Regions from separate parts of the Homo sapiens genome. Here region 1 is linked to region 2. Evidence: promoter capture Hi-C in human tissues and cell types (Jung and others, 2019). All regions are on one chromosome and are shown on one strand. Each heading gives the region's core, a stretch centred on a gene start or on the middle of the fragment in contact. The rest is flanking DNA. Distances are from core to core; before and after follow the strand shown.

Region 1 (3,887 bases), core at 883-3,382, 150 kb before region 2:
ACAGCAAAGCTGGAGGCATCACACTACCTAACTTCAAACTATGCTACAAGGCTACAGTAACCAAAACAGCATGGTACTGGTACCAAAACAGATATGTAGACCAATGGAACAGAACGGATGCCTCAGAAATAACACCACACATCTACAACCATCTGATCTTTGACAAACCTGATAAAAACAAGCAATGGAGAAAGGATCTCCTATTCAGTAAATTGTGCTGGGAAAACTGGCTAGCCATTTGCAGAAAACTGAAACTGGACCCCTTTCTTACACCTTATACAAAAATTAACTCAAGATGGATTAAAGATTTAAATGTAAAACCCCAAACCATAAAGCACCCTAGAAGAAAACCTATAAACCTAGGCAATACCTTTCAGGACATAGGCATGTGCAAAGACTTCATGACAAAAACGCCAAAAGCAATTGCAACAATAGCCAAAATTGACAAATGGGATCTAACTAAACTAAAGAAAGAAAGTATCATCAGAGTGAGCAGGCAACCTACAGAATGGGAGAAAGGTTTTGCAACGTACCCATCTGACAAAGGCCTAATATTCAGAATTTACAAGAACTTAAACATATTTAAAAGAAAAAAAAAACCAACCCCATCAAAAAGTGGGCAAAGGATATGAACAAACACTTCTCAAAGGAAGACATTTATGCAGGCCTGGAAGCTCAGGGACCTCCACTTTGCCTCCATTAAACATTGCCTCCAACAAACATTAAAAAGAGCTCAACATCACTGATCATCAGAGAAATGCAAATCAAGACCACAATGAGATACCATCTCACGTCAGTCAGAATGGTGATTATTAAAAAGTTAGGAAACAATAGATGCTGGCTGGGCTAGGGAGAAATAGGAATGCTTTTACACTGTTGGTGGGAATGTAAATTGGTTCAACCATTGTGGAAAACAGTATGGCGATTCCTCAAGGATCTAGAACCAGAAATACCATTTGGCCCAGAAATCCCGTGACTGGGTATATACCCAAAGGAATATAAATCATTGTACTATAAAGACACATGCACATGTATGTTTGCTGCAGCACTGTTTACAATAGCAAAGACATGGAACCAACCCAAATCAATGATAGACTGGATAAAGAAAATGTGGCACATACATACCATGGAATACTATGCAGCCATAAAAAGGAAGATCATGTCCTTTGCAGGGACATGGATGAAGCTAGAAGCCATCATCCTCAGAAAACTAACACAGGAACAGAAAACCAAACACTGCCTTTTCTCACTCATAAGTGGGAGTTGAATACTCGGGAGGCTGAGGCAGGAGAATGGCATGAACCCAGGAGGCGGAGCCTACAGTGAGCCGAGATCGCGCCACTGCACTGCAGCCTGGGTGACAGAGCAAGACTCCGCCTCAAAAAAAAAAAAAAAAAAAAAAAGAACACATGGACACAGACAGGAGAACAACACACATCAGGGCCTGTTGGGGAGTAGGGGGTGAGGAGAGGAAACTTAGAGGATGGACCAATAGGTGCAGCAAACCACCATGGCACATGTATACCTGGGTAACAAACCTGCACATTCTGCACATGTATCCCATTTTTTTAAGAATAAATAAATAAATACATTAAAAATTTTTTAAAAGGAAATACCTTGCAAGGTTTCCTTCTGTTTCATAGCAGCCTGCAACTGAGCAGGTTAAGGTGCTCATCCTATGGCTCTAGGAAGGGGGTCAGCTCTCTCCTGAGGTGCTGTGTGACCCCTGGTAAGTTAATTAGGCTCTCTGTACCTCAGCCTCCTCTGTAAAATGAGGGTGATAAGAATGCCTACCTCAAAGCTTTGTTCTGAAGATTCAATTAGCTACTATATATAAACAGAGTGCTGGACACATAGCAGGTGCTACATAAATGCTTCCTGTCATTAGAGTGACTTTTGTCTGTACTTTCGGGTGTGGATGTGATTAGCTCTAAGAAGTGGAATAGGCCTAGACTTACCTTCCCTCCCTGCATGGTGCCCACTAGGGTCCTTGTCCCCATTTGTCACTCAGCCAGGGAGCCAGGTGCCCAGGTCTGCCTGCCTACATCCACAGAAGAGCCACCTTGGCCTGCCTGATCCCTGAGAAATGAGCCTCGGCTGCAGGTTTATCTCCTCCTGGGCAGTGGGCATCCTGGGCCAGCCTGAGGCTTCCTGGCCCCTCTTAAGCCTGCCCTGGGCAGATGCTCAGCTCACACCATGTAGAGGTTTCAGAGGGGGCAATGCCACTCTAGACTTGGAACCCTAACCTGCTTCCAGCCTGGTCCTGCAGTGACCAGCAGGGCAGCATGACCGCCCCCTCCCCCAGGGCACCAGTCTTCACCTCCCCTGACAATGATACCACCAAGTCCCAGGCAGTGTGGACAGACATGCTGATGTCACACAGTAGGCGCTCAAACAGGGCAGTCACAGACAGATGGGCTGCTGGAGTTTCTGAATCCTCCCCTGCCAGCTGTCCCTTCCCCTCCCATGTGTCCCCTCCCCCACCATTGTCCCCTCCGCCTGTGGGGAGTGACTGGTGGTTGTGTTTAAGTGAGTAATTTAGCCCCCGTTTAAGAAGAGGAAGCAATAATAACGGCTGTAATTGTCCAAATTACTGCTGCCCCTTCCAGTTTGACATCTGCCTAATGACGGCGGATGGAAACCTGACCCGTGGCCGCGGGTGGGTGGGTGGTGATGGCTGCTTGGAGCCGAGCGTCCAGTCCCCAAAGCTGGCAGAGGCCCTGCTGGCCTGTGCTGGAGGCTCCAGGGCTGGGGGCTTCAGTGCAGTGTCCATGGGTTCCTCTAGAATGAGTGTGAGGGACGGGCCTAATTCATCTCAGAGACTCAGAAACTAAAGCCCAGAGGGACAGCAACTGCCCCACAGCCACAGAAGGTGGCTGGACCAGGGGATGGGATGGAGATTGTTCACTGTTTGCCATTTGGTATTTTTCACATTTTGAACCAGGTACTGCATTATCGATCCAAAATTTAAAATAAACAAGACATTGCCTCTTCAGCTGAGGCTTGGATGGCTCCTGACAGTCAGAGACACCGGCTTTGATGTAAAAGTATCTAGTGGACAGCATGGGGCTCTGCTGTTGCCAAGGCCACTTGGCCAGGACCTCACTGTGAGGACACAGGGCATGAACACAGCCTCAATCTGTTGACCCTCCCCTCTGAAGGCTCTTAGGGCCAGCGGGCCCAGGAGCTCCTAGTCATGGGATTTCATGGACCTATCACTTTTTAAAAGTTAGGTCTGCTCACTCTGTGTCATCAAGGACAGACCCAATGGCCCTAACACGAACCCACTGCCATTTGTTATCTCCAAGCAGCAGAGCTCTCAGCATCAAGGACTTTCTAAGAAAGGACCATGGTGATGGCTTTGTGACCTGCCTGGTATGAACCCAGCTCCACTGTTAAAGGACAGAGGGAGCGATTGGCTGTGGGCTGAGAAGTCAGGGTAGGGGGATGGGGTTTGGGCTGAGAAGTCAGGGTTGGGGGTGGGGTTTGGGCTGAGAAGTCGGGGTCGGGGGGTAGGGTTTGCTGCAGGTGCAGCAGTTTCCAGCTACAATATCCTTGGGAAAGGCTCACTCTCAACCTCACAGCCACATCCCACAGGTCTTCTACAAGCTCAGGCTGTTGGGGACAAGGAGAGGATAAGGCAGCAGAGTTTATAGAGGATTGGGGCCCTCTCAGTCCTCCTCTGAAGGAGCGAGGAGCCCCACCTGCTCCCACTTACATAGTCGGGTTGCTTTGGGACGGCAAGGAGCTGAAACCATTGGCTTCTCAGGGGTCCCTAGAGGATCAGGGCCCATTGCTGGGGACCCCTGAAGATCAGGATCCCAATACTGATCTGGCCCAGTGGGATAAGGCTCGCCATCAGGATTAGGACGGTACTAAAAAGCTGA
Region 2 (3,936 bases), core at 768-3,267:
CAGATGGAGACCCTCCTCAACGTTGCCGTTCCCCAGATTTGGGAGGGAGTATCTCCTCGACCCTGTCCGTGTTCTGTCCTGGAGTTCCCCAGGCCTCAGCTGCCTCTGAGATCTCGGGGTTCCTGATGAACATGTTTGCAGCTGCGAGAAACTCGGAGTGTGTCTTGTCTTTCGGGGAAAGTAGAAACCAAAAAGAAAACGGCAGCTGGTCCTAAGAAGATGGCGTTTGCTCCAACCAAATCAGCCTTGCTGCGTTAGAAAAAGAACATGCACGGAGCGTGCACATTTGCTCTTCCGTGCGTGGCACAACAGCCATGCGGTGGCCAGGAGTCATCTGGGCCGGAGTTGGGTGCTTCCCGGAAATTCCAAAGTACCCTGAGAACCTGGAAATTATTGTTCACGTTTTCTATTTTCAGACGCTTCCCCATGCAGATGTTTCCATTTTCTTCAGTCCTAAAATGATTGTGTGCCCGCTTCAAACGAATTAGTAGCAACAGAGCAGATGGAGACGAAAGGTAGCCGAATGGCCGAGTCCCAGCTGGACTTAGAAGGAGCGCGCTGGCCCTGCCGTCTCCAGGCTAGGGAGCACCGACTAGGAGGTGGGGGGGTGCAGGGAAGGCGACTTGAAGGGCTGGGGTCCCGGCTACAGCGTAGGAGCCTCCCTTCCCCGACAGGCCTGTCACTGAGGTGCGAGTCCTAGCCTGGCTGGAGTCGGAAAGGGCAGGGCAAGGCGCAGGTAAATGTGGGGCAGAGGACCCGTAGGGAAAAGGTGGGAGATGGGAGGCAGGCCGACCCCAATGAGAGAAGCGAGGGAGGCCGACCGGCAGACGGTTGGAAAGCGAGATAGGGAAAGACAAGACGAGGGTGGAGTGCGATGGAGACAGCACCATCAGGGCAGAGCAGGCCCCGCCAAATTAGAAGAAAGGGCAGAAGCTGAAAAGGTCTGCGCAGGCCGTTCAAGCCCTGCAGAGGCCCAGCCGACCTGAAACCAGAAGGGACAGCCAGGCAGCTGCTCACAGTCAGGCCTCTGGCCCCAAGGCAAGGCCGAAGCAGGTCCGCACTGCGGCCAAGGCCGCGTTCCTCGCCCGCTGGAGCTCCCGGGGACTCCGGGCCGGCTTGGGCCCGCGTCAGCACCCAGCCCTCGGGAGCGCAGGCCTCCTCCCCAGAGGTCCGACTTCCCTGGGTTGGGCAGCCGCGGCCACTCCCGGCCATCCCTCTGCGGCGAAGCCCAGGCGCCCGTGGCCTGAGGTCGCTTCCACCCACGAGAGTCCGTAGCCTGGCAGTGCGCCTGCACTGGGGATGCTCACTCGGGGTCCCCGGGCTGGAGGCCGAAGGGAAGCAGTGAAGGAAAGAGCGAACACCCTCCCCGGGCGGCCCGCGGGCACGAGGCCTGGTTTCTGTGAGGCCTGGAGCTTGCACCCTCCGCCTCCCGCCTGGAGGGCTCCGAGAGACGGTCCCAGAACCTGCGCTCCCAGAGCAGCTTCCCGGGGCTGCTTCGATGCCGGAGGAGGCTCGGGGCGCCCCCGCGGTTCAGCTCGCTGTCTCCCGCCAAGCCCGGCCCGCGACCCCGCGGCCGCCACACGTACCCAGGTGGCTGTGGAAGGGCCGCGCCGCCAGCAGCGCCTGCACGCCGAACTTCAGCAGCTCGCCCGCCGCGGCAGCGGCGGCTGCGGGCGCGGCGCCCTTGGGCCCGGGTGGCTCCGTGAGGATCTCCTCAATCATGAAGCTGCGATAGCGGTGCGGCCGGTGGTCCGCGCAGCCCTCGGGCGGGCCGAAGCGCGCGGCGCCCGGCTCCCCCGGCCGCTGCATCGCGGCGCCCACTGCTGCGCCCGCGGTTTGGCGGCGGCGGCGGCGACGGCTTGGCTCCGGCGCGGGGCCCGCGCGGGGCTCTAGGCCGGCCCGCAGCTCGGGGCGGCGCGCGGGCGCCGGCTCATGCCCCCTCCCCCGCCGGCCGGCCGGGCGGAGGCGCAGGGCGCGGGCGGGGCGCGCGGGGCTCGGCCGGTCGAACCCGGGACTGCGCCCCCTCCCCACGCCGCCGCGCCTCTTGCCCGGCCAGCCCCGCGTCACCGCCCCGCCCCGCCCCGCCCCGCGCCGCCGCCCCCAACCCCTAGGCTGAGCCGGAGGGAGGGACCCAGAAGGGAGGGAGGCGGAAGGGAGGCCAAAAAGGAGGGGGCCACGTGAAAGAGGCCGGCCGACCGAGACCGAGGGAGACTGAGCGGAGCGCACGCCCTGGAAGGAGAGAGCCGGAGAGTTCGGGAGGCAAGACCCCCAGAGACGAGAGTCGGAGGGATCAAACGACACAGGTGAGAGAAGGGGCAGAGGCAGACGGCGTGGGCCAAACAAGATTCCAGACAGTGATGTGAGGGCACCAGAGACGCCACCGAGATGTGCGCAGAGAGACCAAAAGAGGCGTGAGAGCCAGCGGGCTGTGACGTGACGGAGGGCACAGAGGCAGGCGGGGCAGAGGAAGGGGGCGGTAAAGAAATGGGAACAGCTAGAAAACCGGCGGCTTGATCGGCTTTTAGGTAGCCCCGGAAAGGTCGGGAGGAGGAGGGGCAAAGGCCGCGCTCCTCAGCTGGGAAGGAGGTGGTCTCAAGCAGCCTCCAGTCCCGGGCTCAACACCGCCAACCCGGCAAGGGTGAGGCAGCGTTCAGGGATGCAAGGGGCAGAGCGGTAGCGGCACCTGTGCACCCCTCCCACCTCTGCCTCAGTTTACCATGTACGGCCTCATTTCTCTCCGGGCTGCCCTGAGAGAAAAATGTTCTCCAGCCGAGATTTGCTTGAATTGGAAATTCAAGTGATCCATGGACACATCCTCCTTGACAGCCCCCAGAAGACTGTAGGCTGGTTACATCCCCCTAGTTAGAAAAGGAAAAGGATTCGAGGAGAAGGGAAGGATGCAGCTTTGCCTTTTCCCAGCTTTGGGGCATCAAGAAACTGTTACTGGGCGGAGTTGGGGCCAGGGGGCCAGTGGGTGCTCTGAGAGTGTAAAGACCAAACTCTGGTGGGACCTGGCTCCATTGCGGAGCCTCAAAAGCTCCAACATGGTGGAGGAAGTTGGCAGTACCTTCTCTAGATCTTTCTTTCCATCCTTAGAAGAGTATAAGCCCAAGCCGTGGAGTGAACAACCCCAAAGCTACCCTACGCTGAACTCCTCTCTTTGGTCCTGCCACTACTGGTGAAACCACTGACCCTTTCTGGGCCTGTTTCCTTACCTGTCCTGAGGAGATGCTGACCTTTGGCTCCAGAGAGACTGTGAGAACTCAGTGAGGGGGTCCTGCACTCCGAGGGTCCTGCACCCTGGGAGCCCTTAGGTCTGTTTGGAGAGAAAACAGTTCCTCCAGGCAAGAGGGGAGAAGTGTCCCCAGGAGGTTGGGGGAGGAGCATCTGCCCTCCTCCTTCTCAGGAATCACAGGGCCTACCTCCTAGCCCCATCCACCATTGCCAGTCAGCGCCTGATGCACTGGGGGTGTCCTGGGCCACCCGGACTTCCTCTGTGAGCTCCATGTGGGGCCTCAGTCTTTACCTCAGGTAACTAGGGCTTACCACACCTACAGCCATGCCCCCCACCCAAGTTGAAGTCCTTTCTCCAGCTCCAGCTGCTGGTGGGGAGGCCTTCAGGCTGGCCCTCAGTCCCTGGCACCTGCCCCAGACTCGGGAGTGGGGGTGGGGGGCAGGTGGGGACTAGGAAGTGGCCCAGATCCTTTGTCTGTAGGGCCTGGAGTGAGGACAAAGACTACCTTACTCTGGTAAGATCCCAGTCCCAAGAGCCCACTGTCTCTCCTTCCCAGTTGTTGCATGACTTTCTGAACTCAGAGTTACCATTGGGACTGAAAGAAGGTGGCCTCAATGGCCGCCAGTTGCTTCGGACTCCCTCGGAGAGTGGTGCTGTGAGCCTACATGGTTCTTTGGAAAGGGTGGAGAGGGGCGCACTAA

Evidence for each region. The method cuts DNA at HindIII sites, captures the fragments that hold promoters and counts their contacts. A contact is called where the count stands out against the background at its distance.
Region 1: a fragment that was not itself captured here is called in contact with the fragment with the promoter of BARX1 in region 2 in 1 of the 25 tissues and cell types used here (lymphoblastoid cells).

Annotation. Positions count from the first base shown.
Region 1 is chr9:93,805,190-93,809,076 of GRCh38, forward strand. It overlaps LOC101928014 (a long non-coding RNA gene), which reads left to right and starts at 3,160. Exons shown (of 4, transcript NR_188449.1): 1 at 3,160-3,375. RefSeq lists an enhancer at 2,474-3,194. The HindIII fragment of the contact is 8,042 bases long and covers 1-3,887 here.
Region 2 is chr9:93,953,338-93,957,273 of GRCh38, forward strand. It overlaps BARX1 (BARX homeobox 1), which reads right to left and starts at 2,018. Exons shown (of 4, transcript NM_021570.4): 1 at 1,587-2,018. The coding sequence starts at 1,809. It overlaps BARX1-DT (BARX1 divergent transcript), which reads left to right and starts at 2,497. Exons shown (of 2, transcript NR_144455.1): 1 at 2,497-3,531. LOC124902216 (a long non-coding RNA gene) reads left to right here and starts at 2,189. Exons shown (of 3, transcript XR_007061672.1): 1 at 2,189-2,303. RefSeq lists enhancers at 1-36, 37-600, 2,012-2,543, 2,544-3,074. The HindIII fragment of the contact is 32,678 bases long and covers 1-3,936 here.